Linked DNA regions of Homo sapiens: region 1 is linked to region 2. Evidence: promoter capture Hi-C in 16 types of primary human blood cells and fetal thymus (Javierre and others, 2016). All regions are on one chromosome and are shown on one strand. Each heading gives the region's core, a stretch centred on a gene start or on the middle of the fragment in contact. The rest is flanking DNA. Distances are from core to core; before and after follow the strand shown.

Region 1 (5,386 bases), core at 1,612-4,111, 180 kb before region 2:
CAGATGGCTCTTGGAAGAGCTGGGGCAGCTTAGGAGTGACTTTGGTTAGGCATGGCCAGCCCCCAGTTCCTCTGCAATTCCAAGTGTCCTCAGTGCTCATCCTCCTGAGTGTTCTCCGGGGCAGGTGTCTCCCTTCGACATTGAGCCTTCGAGTGGCCAGCTTCACTCTCTGGGGGAGTGCAGGGTGGACATCACCTTGGAGGCCCTGCACTGCCAGCATCTGGAGACCGTCCTGGAGCTGGAGGTGGAAAATGGTGCCTGGAGGTAAGGGTGCCGTGGGAAGAGCCACTACAACAAACTATGCATATTCGTGATGTATTTATCTATATTATATATTTATCTAGAGATGTTCTGGATTTAAAACTATTGAATCCAGAAAATTAGTATTCTATAAAATTTGTAAATTACAGAAAAGAAACTCAAAATGACGCATAATCCATTCCCTAGGGATGATCCACTGATAATATTATGTATATATCTTTCTAGGGTGTGTGTATTAAAGAGATGTAAATTAGTATAACTACTTTCGAAACTACGTTAGCATCAGCTAGTGTTTGCCCTTCTGAGTATACTCCCAGGGAAATCCTTATACATGCACAGTGGGAGATGTGTGCTCATGTTGGAATGCTCAGACTGGACTGTTCCTACAGGAAAAACTAGAAAAAACCACTGTCTGTCAACAGGAGAATGGACATTTAAAAAGTGTGACATATTTAAATAAGCACATACCATTGTATTCTGGGAGGAACATGCTAGAGGTTTCAAAGGTATTGGTAGTATTCCTTTTTTTCTTCTTCATTCTCCCTCCGCTCCCCCACTTCCCTCCTTTTCTTTCTTTCTAGTGGAAAACTTCTCATATATATAAAAACAGAAAGAATAGTATAATAAACCTCCACATACTCTTTCCTCCCTTCAATAATTGTCAACTCACTGCAAGTACTGTTTCATCCATATCCCCTATCTCCTTCTCCCCACTCCTTCCCAAATTATTTTCAAATAAAATATTCATTTTCCTGCTGGGCATGGTGGCTCACGCCTGTAATCCCAGCACTTTGGGAGGCCGAGGCAGGCAAATCACGAGGTCAGGAGTTCGAGATCAGCCTGGCAACATGGTGAAACCCCGTCTTTACTAAAAATACAAAAATTAGCCAGGTATGGTGGTGCTCGCCTGTAGTCCCAGCTACTTAGGAGGCTGAGGCAGAAGAATCACTTGAATCCTGGAGGCAGAGGTTGCAGTGAATGAATATATATATATATTCATTTTCTTAAGCTGGCTGGTGATAATATTTTGTTTCTAAAGTTGTGTGGAGGTAGTACATAGATGTTGTTTTATTATTCGTTAAACTATATATATGTTTAAACTGTATATATGTTTTATACTCATTTTTGCATATATTTGGTGTTTCATTGTAAAAACATTTAAATGCTCATTTAAATCTCTGTGGATGCTCTTGAATTATCCTCCAAAAAGACTGTGTCATTTTATACTTCTGCCTACAGTGTGTGAGACTAGCCATTACCCCACACTTTCACCATGACAAATGTTGTTGGACTTTGTATACTTGACCATCTGACAGTTGTTCAAATGTCCCCTCCTGTGATAACAAATACAGGTCTAGGTATGAGTCTTTGCATTGGTCCTTCAGGGCAATTTGCGGGCATTAGATGTGAAGGCTAAGTCTGCCTGCAGCTCAGGGGAAGGGCTTTCTATTAAGTCTGTGCTTATTTCCTTTCCTTTTCTGTCTCTGTTCTTTCTCCTGAAAGGACCTTGTATTATCAGAATGTTTACAGTAGCAGGTGATGGAAACACAGACATTACCAACTTAGGCAAAAAAGAGGAAGCATTGGCTCACGTAACTGGGCATTCCCACCTTGCTGAATCCAAGGGCCCAACACTTTTCCCTTTGTCTGGTCTTCTGCTTCCTCTCTTTCTCTACCCTCTTTCCCCCTTCTCTACCTCCATCCCAGCCCCAACCCATCTACTGCTCTTTTTTTGTGGGCCCTTCTCTCCCCTATTGACAAGGGCCCTTCGCACTCTGCCTTGGGGAGAGGCCACTTAGAGCTCCAGGCTCACACACTCCCACCTTAACAATCTCTGAGAGCCAATCTGGCTCTTTGCAGAGATAGGCCCTGATTGCTCTTGCTCTTGTGTGGGTCATGTACCCGCCCCTTCCCCTGCTGGGTGACAGGGAGGATCTGTCTCCAGAAGAGGCAATCATGTTTCGAAATTTCAAGCTTTGTTGTTCTTGCGTCTTTCCTTTTCTATAGTAATCTGTTATAGTCTTATCAATGCAACAGCCTCTCAGATTCCCCCAAGAAAATGAATTTCTGTTTTCCCAGATGTTGGAGTTCTTCTTTACTTTTTGAGTTTTCTTCTGCTTCTAGTAATCTTTGCCTGTCCAGTCCTGTTTTTGAATGGAGGAGGAAGTTGATTTGCATAAGGAGCTGGTGTTGTAAGTTTCTTCTGAGTAAAAGGGGGTAGATGTGGAGAGCACCCCTATTCTAAGGGATGAAGTACATGTGAGTCACCACCCTCAGAGCACACAGCTAGCCTGAATCCATCAGAGAAAGGGACCTTTGGGGAAAACAGCCCTAAACAAACAGTGGAGAAAACCCATACTGGGCAGCTACACAAATCAATTCGTGCCTTCATTCATAAATAAGAATGAAGGAATAGCATCTTTCTGGTTGTTTCCTCCTCATGACAGTTGAGAGGTCCAGTGTTACTGCAGGCTCTGCCCTGGCCTCTCTCCAGCGTGATACCCACAGTCTTCAGTGGGGGCAAATACTGTGGCAGCCCAGTCTTTTTCTTAATTTTCAATTTTAATTTTTATTATTTGTACAAATTTATGGGGTACATGTGCAATTGTGTTATGTGCGTAGATTATATAGTGGTCAAGTCAGGGCTTTAGGGTATCCATCACCCAAATAGCATACATTGTACTCATGAACTAATTTCTCATCACCCATTTCCCTCCTATGCCCTCACCCTTCCGAGTCTCCGTTGTCTATCATTCCAATCTCTATGTCCATATGTACACGTTTTTAGCACCCACTTGAGTGAGATCATGTGATATTTGACTTCTGTGCCTGGGGCAGCCCACTCTTCCATGTGTTGCTCTGAGCTCTGGGGCTGGAGCCCTGACCTGGCTAAGCCAATGGATCTTCAGCAGTGCTTTGCTCAGCTCCCCCGCCCTTTGATGCCCTCATTCCATCATTAAGGATTGCATTGCACGTAACCTGTGCAGGGATTTCAAGCAGCAGTTTTGTTCTCCTCTGTTTTATCAGTTAACCTGATCACATTATTTCTTTCTCCTATTTTCTTTTCCTTGTTTGCATAACATTTTATTTGCTTTATTATCTTTTACTTCAAAATTTTCACAAATAGGGCATTTGCTAGATATTACATTTCTTTGCATTCACAATTTGTCTGTTTGGCACAAAGCTAGCTTTCTGCCTGTGTCAGCTTTGAATGTGCCTTCCTCACTAAGCTTAATCATTTTTTAGCTTAATCATTTTGATTTAAAGTGAGATACGTACGACTCTTCTTTTCACTTGAAGACTTAGAGGCTATTGTAGGGTTATCAGTTGGTCTAATTTCAATATTGTTGTGTCTCAAGGAATAGGGAGGCCTGAGGAGAGGGAGAGAGACGGAAATGACCAGTAAGTAGAGCAGTCAAAATGCACACAGCATTTACCAGTTGAGCCCATTATCGTATATGATTGCTGTTTATGGCACCCCAAAACAATTACAGTAGTAACATCAAAGATCACTAATCACAGGTTACCATAACAGCTATAGCAAAAAAGTTTGCAAGACATGACACAGAGACATGAAATGAGGACATGCAATTGGAAAAATGACATTGATAGGCTTGCTCAATGCAGCGTTGTCACAAACCTTCGATTTGTAAAAATCACAGTATCTGTGAAGTACAATAAAGCAGAGCATAATAACATGAGGTATGTTTGTAACTGAATTTCTTATATAGGTCAATTTAGACTTTTTTCTTGGCCAGGCACAGTGGCTCATGACTGTAATCCCAGCACTTTGGGAGGCTGAGGTGGACGGATCACCTAAGGTCAGGAGTACGAGACCAGGCTAGCCAACATGGTGAAACCCCATTTCTACTAAAAATACAAAAATTAGCCGGGTGTGGTGGTGCACACCTGTAATCCCAGCTACTCGGGAGGCTGAGGCATGAGAATAGCTTGAACGTGGGAGGCAGAGGCTGCAGTGAGCCGAGATTGTGCCACTGCACTCCAGCCTGGGCAACAGAGCAAGACTCTGTATGCCCCACCCCATCCCCCCAAAAAAAGATTTTTTTTTTTTTCTCAGTTTTGGTAGTTTGCATCACTCTAGGAATTTAGGAATTTGTCCATTTTATCTGTGATGTAATTTGTTGGTACATAGTTGTTAGTGGTATTCTCTGATAATTATTTTTATTTCTGTATGATCAGTAGTGATGTCCCCACTTTCATTCCTGATTTCTCTAATTTGAATCTTCAGCAAATTTTTCTTGGTCAGTCTAGTCTAGCTAAAGGTTTATCAATGTTGGTGATATTTTCAAAGAACCAGCTTTTGCTTTTGTTGATTTTCTGTAATGTTTTTCTATTTTCTATTTCATTTATCTCTGCTTTCTAGTCTTTATTATTTCTGTCCTTCCACTTGCTTTGGGTTTAGTTTGCTCTTCTCTTTCTAGTTTCTTAAGGTAAAAGCTGAGGTTTTTGATTTGCAATCTTTCTTTTTTGTTTGTTTAAAGAAAATTGTATTTACAAATATAAATTTTCCTCTAACCACTCCCTTAGTTGCATCCTATAACTTTTCATATATCATGTTTTCATTTTCATTGATATAAAAGTATTTTCTAATTTTTCTTGTGGTTTCTTATTTGACTTGTTTATGAATGTGTTATTTAATTTGCACATATTTTGTTTCACAAATTTCTTTCTGTTGTTGATTTCTAATTTGATTCTATTGTTGTTGGAGAACCCACTTTATATAATTATAGTCGTTTAAAACTTATTGAGACTTGTTTTATGGGCTATTCTGGAGAATATTCCTTGTGCACTCGAGAAAAATAATGTATTCTGCTGTTATTGTGTAGAGTGTTGCCTGTTCTGTTTGGTTTATAGTGCTGTTTAAATCTTCTATTTCAATGTTTATCTTCTGGTTAGTTGTTTTTCCATTATTAAAAATGGGCTGTTGAAGTCTCCAACCATTATTGTTGAATTGCTGATCTCTCCTTCAATTCTGTCAGTTTTTGCTTCATGTATTTTGTGGTGCTGTTGTTAGATACATACATGTTTATAATTGTTATATCTTTCTAATTTATCTTTTTATAATTATAAAATATCCTTCATTGTCTCTAATAACCATTTTTGT
Region 2 (4,832 bases), core at 1,596-4,095:
ATTTTTGTATTTTTGGTAGAGATGGGGTTTTGCCAAGTTGGCCAGGCTGGTCTCAAACTCCTGAACTCGTGATCCGCCCACCTCGGCCTCCCAAAGTATTGGGATTACAGGCATGAGCCACCATGCCTGGTCCCTGGAGACTTTTTCTTTCCTTTTTGGGGGGATTATGGTTGGTTGGGGAGAAAGATTTTTTTTTTTTTCTGTGTGTATTTAAAAGTGTCCTGTGGTTTGCTCTGATGAATGGGTAAGTGTCCTTTAGCAGTCACTGATGGGAGGTTGGCTGCTGAGGCCTCTGGGACTCTGAAGGAGAAGATATGCAGCTTCACTGGACCCTGGTTGTGTATCTCCTTGATTTTGCTCCTCAAAGGTTACGGCAATGGTGACTATCAGTCCTAAACATTTAGTCCAGGTGTGTGAAAGCGAAACTGTGCCCCAAACAGTTAAAGACACCAATGACTAACAGAAATTCTTGAGTTTGCAGGATGGTAGGTAAGCAAAGAAACAACTTGCTGAGATGCTGAAAGTCCCTCCACTTGTAAGACAACAAAGCTGGCTAAAATAGGTTGGAACCAATGTGGCCAACTAGAGTCTGTGCAGTACCTGCTTGCTGACATCACAGCCTGAATTTCCACTGCGTGTTTCATACTCACTCCCCCCGTACCTGCCCATGTGATCTATGAGGTGTCATGAAGAGAACTGCGCATGCTGGAGGACTTTCCAGGCCTCCTCTTTCCTTCCACTAATCACCTGCTAATCTCAGAATCCCGACACCTTTTCTAATAAAAACACTGCCTTAGCACCAGCCCAGGGAGACAGATTCAAGCTGGACTCCTGTCTCCGTGTCGGCCGGCCTATAATTACAAGCTTTTCTTTTCTCAAAAACCCGGTGTCATCATATTGGCTTCTAGCACATTGAACAGCAAGCCCCTTTCTGCCTAGAAACAATCTGACCCTCATATTTACTAGTTTTCTCAACCTGTAACCAAGGGAAACAAAAATGACCTCCTAAATTTTTAACAAAGGCAATCAACATTTGTAGCTGGTATGAATATTTGTTCTGTAAACTCATATCTGCAGGCAACAGAATGTTTCTTTAGCCTATGAGCCTCCATCTTGCTGAGCTGATTGGAAATTCATCTCAGCTGTTATTGGGGCTCTTCTCAACCCAGAGAGTTCTGGGATCTTTTTTTTTTTTTTTGAAAAGGAGTCTCAGTTTGTCACCCAGGCTGGAGTGCAGTGGTGCAATTCTCTGCTCACCGCAACTTCTGCCTCCTGGGTTCAAGCGATTCTCTTGCCTCAGCTTCCCGAGTAACTGGGATTACAGGTGTGCGCCACTGCGCCAGGCTAATTTTTGTATTTTTAGTAGAGACAGGGTTTTGCCATGTTGGCCAGGCTGGTCTTGAACTCCTGACCTCAGGTGATCCGTCTGCCTCAGCCTCCCAAAGTGCTGGGATTACAGGCGTGAGCCACCATGCCCAGCCGAGTTCTGGGATCTTATGTAACCAAAACAAACCAAAACAAAGGGGTGCTCCCACCCTGCTCTTCAGTCTCACTGATGGCTTCTGGGTGCTCACTGTGCTGTCTGCTTGGTCCCTTTGACCCCCAGAGTGCTGCTGCTCAAGAGTGGGGAACTCTAGGGGGGATGAGGGGCCTAGGACCAACCACTGAGGTGACCTGCAGACACCCCGAGGGAGGTCTGGTGAAAGAGGAAGGATCTGATGCCCCAGATACCAATAAGATTGCAGTGCCCTGCCCCCAAACAAGTGAAGATTGAGCCATAGGAAACTGCAAAAGAGCTGTAAGTAGGTTTCCCTGTGATCAATACTTCATTTTTTTTCAAATATATGAAATTCTTTTAATTTTTTTTTGTGTCTTAAGTGTCTGTGTTAGTCCATTTTCTGTTGCTTATAACAGACTGCTTGAAACTGAGTTATTTATAAAGAAAAGAAATTTATTTCTTACAGTTCTGGAGGCTGGGAAGTCCAAGGTTTAGGGAATACATCTGGTAAGGGCCTTCTTGCTGTTGGGAACTCTGCAGTCTCCCAAGGGGGCACAGGTGAGGGAACCGAGCAAGCTAGCTTGTCTTTCTTCCTCTTGTTATAAAGTCACCAGTCCCATTCTCATAACTCATTAACCCATTAATCTACTAATCCATGATTGGTGATTCATGGATTAACAGATTACACTCATGACCCAATTACATCTTAAAGGCCCCATCACGCTACCACACTGGAGATGAAGTTTCAACATGAGTTTTGGAGAGGACAAATATTAAGCCATAGCAATGCTCTAATTTTGTTGAGGTCCTAAGTACATGCTGTACTGGTACAAGGATGGTCTGCCTTGTACTAGGCCCTGTGCTGGTTTTCCTGTCCTGCCACTTTGGCCTCCCTTCCCCCAAGCATGAAGCTTGAAGCCCTGTTCCTGCAATCTGGCAGAGGAGGCTTCTAGCTTATGGGGGAGATGGGTCAGACCCCGGCAGCTCTGACCAAGGCTGGTTGGCAGGGGAGTGTCACGGAGAGACAGAGCAGAAGTGAGTGGGGTAGGGCCAAGCCATTTCCAGCTGTGGGCTCAGGAAGGCTTGAAGGATAGTTGATAAATGAGTGATATCTGGAAGGACAGGAGAATTTCCGAGAGTGGAGGTGGAGCCCTCGTGTGGAGGAAACAGCCTGCACAAAGACAGGGGCAGGGGGGTTCGTGTGGCAGTTTTCCTGACCTGCCTTGCCCCTGGAGGCTACAGCCAGTTGTGTCCCTGGAGTAGAATGCTGACCCTCACCATTCCCAGCTCACCCCAAGGACCTCCCCACCCCATTGTGACACTACTTCCTGGACACCAGTGGAGCTCAAAGGTTCTGCTTCCAAGGGTCTGGCTGGGCCTGGATTGTGGTCAGGTGGGCCCTGGCTTTGGCTTGCGGTCCTGCCTACAGGGAGGCAGGGCCGGGAGGGTGTGGAGAGTAGAAATTATGATGACCCCTGGCAATTTTGCGGCCGCGTTCTCAGCACAGGTGTGGACAGGAGCCTGCCTGGGCCTGTTTGGCTGTGGGGAATCTGTGGAAGGAGCGGGCTGCCCTCCCAGAAAGCGTGAGTTCTCAGGTGTGGCGTCTGGCCATCTCCTGCGGCAGGTGGAGTGCTCCTCCTGGCTATGCTTCTCCCAGGCCTCAGTTACCTCTTTGGCACATTGAGAGCCAATTGCCTGGGGCCTGTCCACCTGGCAGAGGACCTTTGGGATGAGTAGAGGGAGTGAGTGCTCCAGGGTATTGGGGTATCAGGTGGTGCTGGGGGATGCTGAAGCGGTCCCTGCAGAGGGAGGCTGGTACAGATGGCTCTGGTCCAGAAGCCACATCTCTGAGAGGACAGCGGAGGCTCTCCCTCCCTGGAAAGTCTCCTTTATCCACCTCCACCCTCTCCAGCCTTACACACATACATCCTGTATTGGTTTCCTATTGCTGCTATAACAAATGCCCACACTTAGTGGCTTGAAACAGCAGAGACTTATTACCTTATGGTTTTGGAGGTCAGAAGAACAAATGGGCCTCAGCAGGCTAAGATCAAGGTCTCAGAAGGATTGCCTTCCTTTCTGGAGGCTCTAGGGCAGAGCTCATTTCCTTCCTTGCCTTTTCCAGCTTCTAGAGCCTCCTGCATTCCTTGGCTCTGGGACCCCTTGCATCTTCAAAGCCACCGACGGCTGCCCAAATCTTTATCACGCTGCATTTCTTTGGGTCTTATGCATTTAAGGATCCTGGGATTAATGGGACCTACCTGACAATCCAGGATAATCTATTTTAAAGTCAGCTAAGTAGTAACCTTAACTTCATCTGTAACTTTAACCCCCCTTGCCATGTAAGGAAACATATTTACGAGTTCTGAGGATTAGGCATAGATCTCTCCGGGGGGCGCTTATGCAGCCTCCCCCACCTCCCAGCACACACACATCTAAGCATGCTCTCCCTCTGTGTTCCCTGCCTCTTATGCACCTCCAAATTCTGCTGAGATAAGGGATCCCGAACTCAGGGCCAGGCAGGAGGCAAAGACAAGTGAAATGGGGAAATGGTGCTGGGCTCTGCTGGGCCTCCTGCATGCACACATCAGAAGTAGCAGGAGCCGGGTGCAGTGGCTCACGCCTGTAATCCCAGCACTTTGGGAGGCCGAGGCGGGAAGATCACTTGAGGTCAGGAGTTCGAGACCAGCCTGGCCAACATGGTGAAACCCCATCTCTACTAAAAATACAAAAATTAGCCAGGCGTGGTGGCTTGCACCTGTAGTACCAGCTACTCGGGAGGCTGAGCCAGTAGAATCACTTGAACCCAGGAAGCAGAGGGTGCAGTAAGCCGAGATCACACCACTACATTCCAGCCTGGGTGACAGACCGAGATTCTGTCTCACAAACAAACAACAACAACAACAATAATAACAAAAAACAGAGCAGACTCTCAGTCTAAAGGAGGGGCCCCTGCTCAGATTTGCTAATTGTTGCCAGATGGGAATGCTGTCCCATTGGCCAAACTTCAAAAAGAAAATGCTGCATTTATGTGAAATCAACTTTTGGCAGTTAAATCACATTCCAAGACACAGTGAGGCACCAAATGGGCTAGCCAAGGGAAATGTGTCTGCAGGCTGGATTTGTCCCGTAGACGATGAGCTGGAGACCTCTTCCCTGGATTATGGAACAGCAGTCGCAGTCTGAGAAGGAGGCATCCCCCTCGTGTGACTGGTAGAAAACTAGGGGCCCAAGAGGGAAAGGGGACTCCTCCTCAAGCAGACAGCTCTTCTCCATCCCTGTCCGCCCTGTCCGATAGTAGAGCGAGGGGCTCATGGTGGCTTCTGAAAGTGGC

Evidence for each region. The method cuts DNA at HindIII sites, captures the fragments that hold promoters and counts their contacts. A CHiCAGO score of 5 or more calls a contact.
Region 1: a fragment that was not itself captured here is called in contact with the fragment with the promoter of SLC22A14 in region 2 in 3 of 17 cell types (neutrophils, M2 macrophages and endothelial precursors); the score reaches 6.8 in neutrophils.

The regions. Positions count from the first base shown.
Region 1 is chr3:38,100,162-38,105,547 of GRCh38, forward strand. DLEC1 (DLEC1 cilia and flagella associated protein) reads left to right here. Exons shown (of 37, transcript NM_007335.4): 19 at 125-264. LOC105377033 (a long non-coding RNA gene) reads right to left here. Exons shown (of 2, transcript XR_940727.3): 2 at 3,329-3,632. Among named protein-coding and RNA genes, the nearest start is that of ACAA1, 34 kb to the right of the region's middle. The HindIII fragment of the contact is 1,256 bases long and covers 2,234-3,489 here.
Region 2 is chr3:38,279,449-38,284,280 of GRCh38, forward strand. SLC22A14 (solute carrier family 22 member 14) reads left to right here and starts at 2,846. Exons shown (of 11, transcript NM_001320033.2): 1 at 2,846-2,891. The HindIII fragment of the contact is 3,768 bases long and covers 2,408-4,832 here.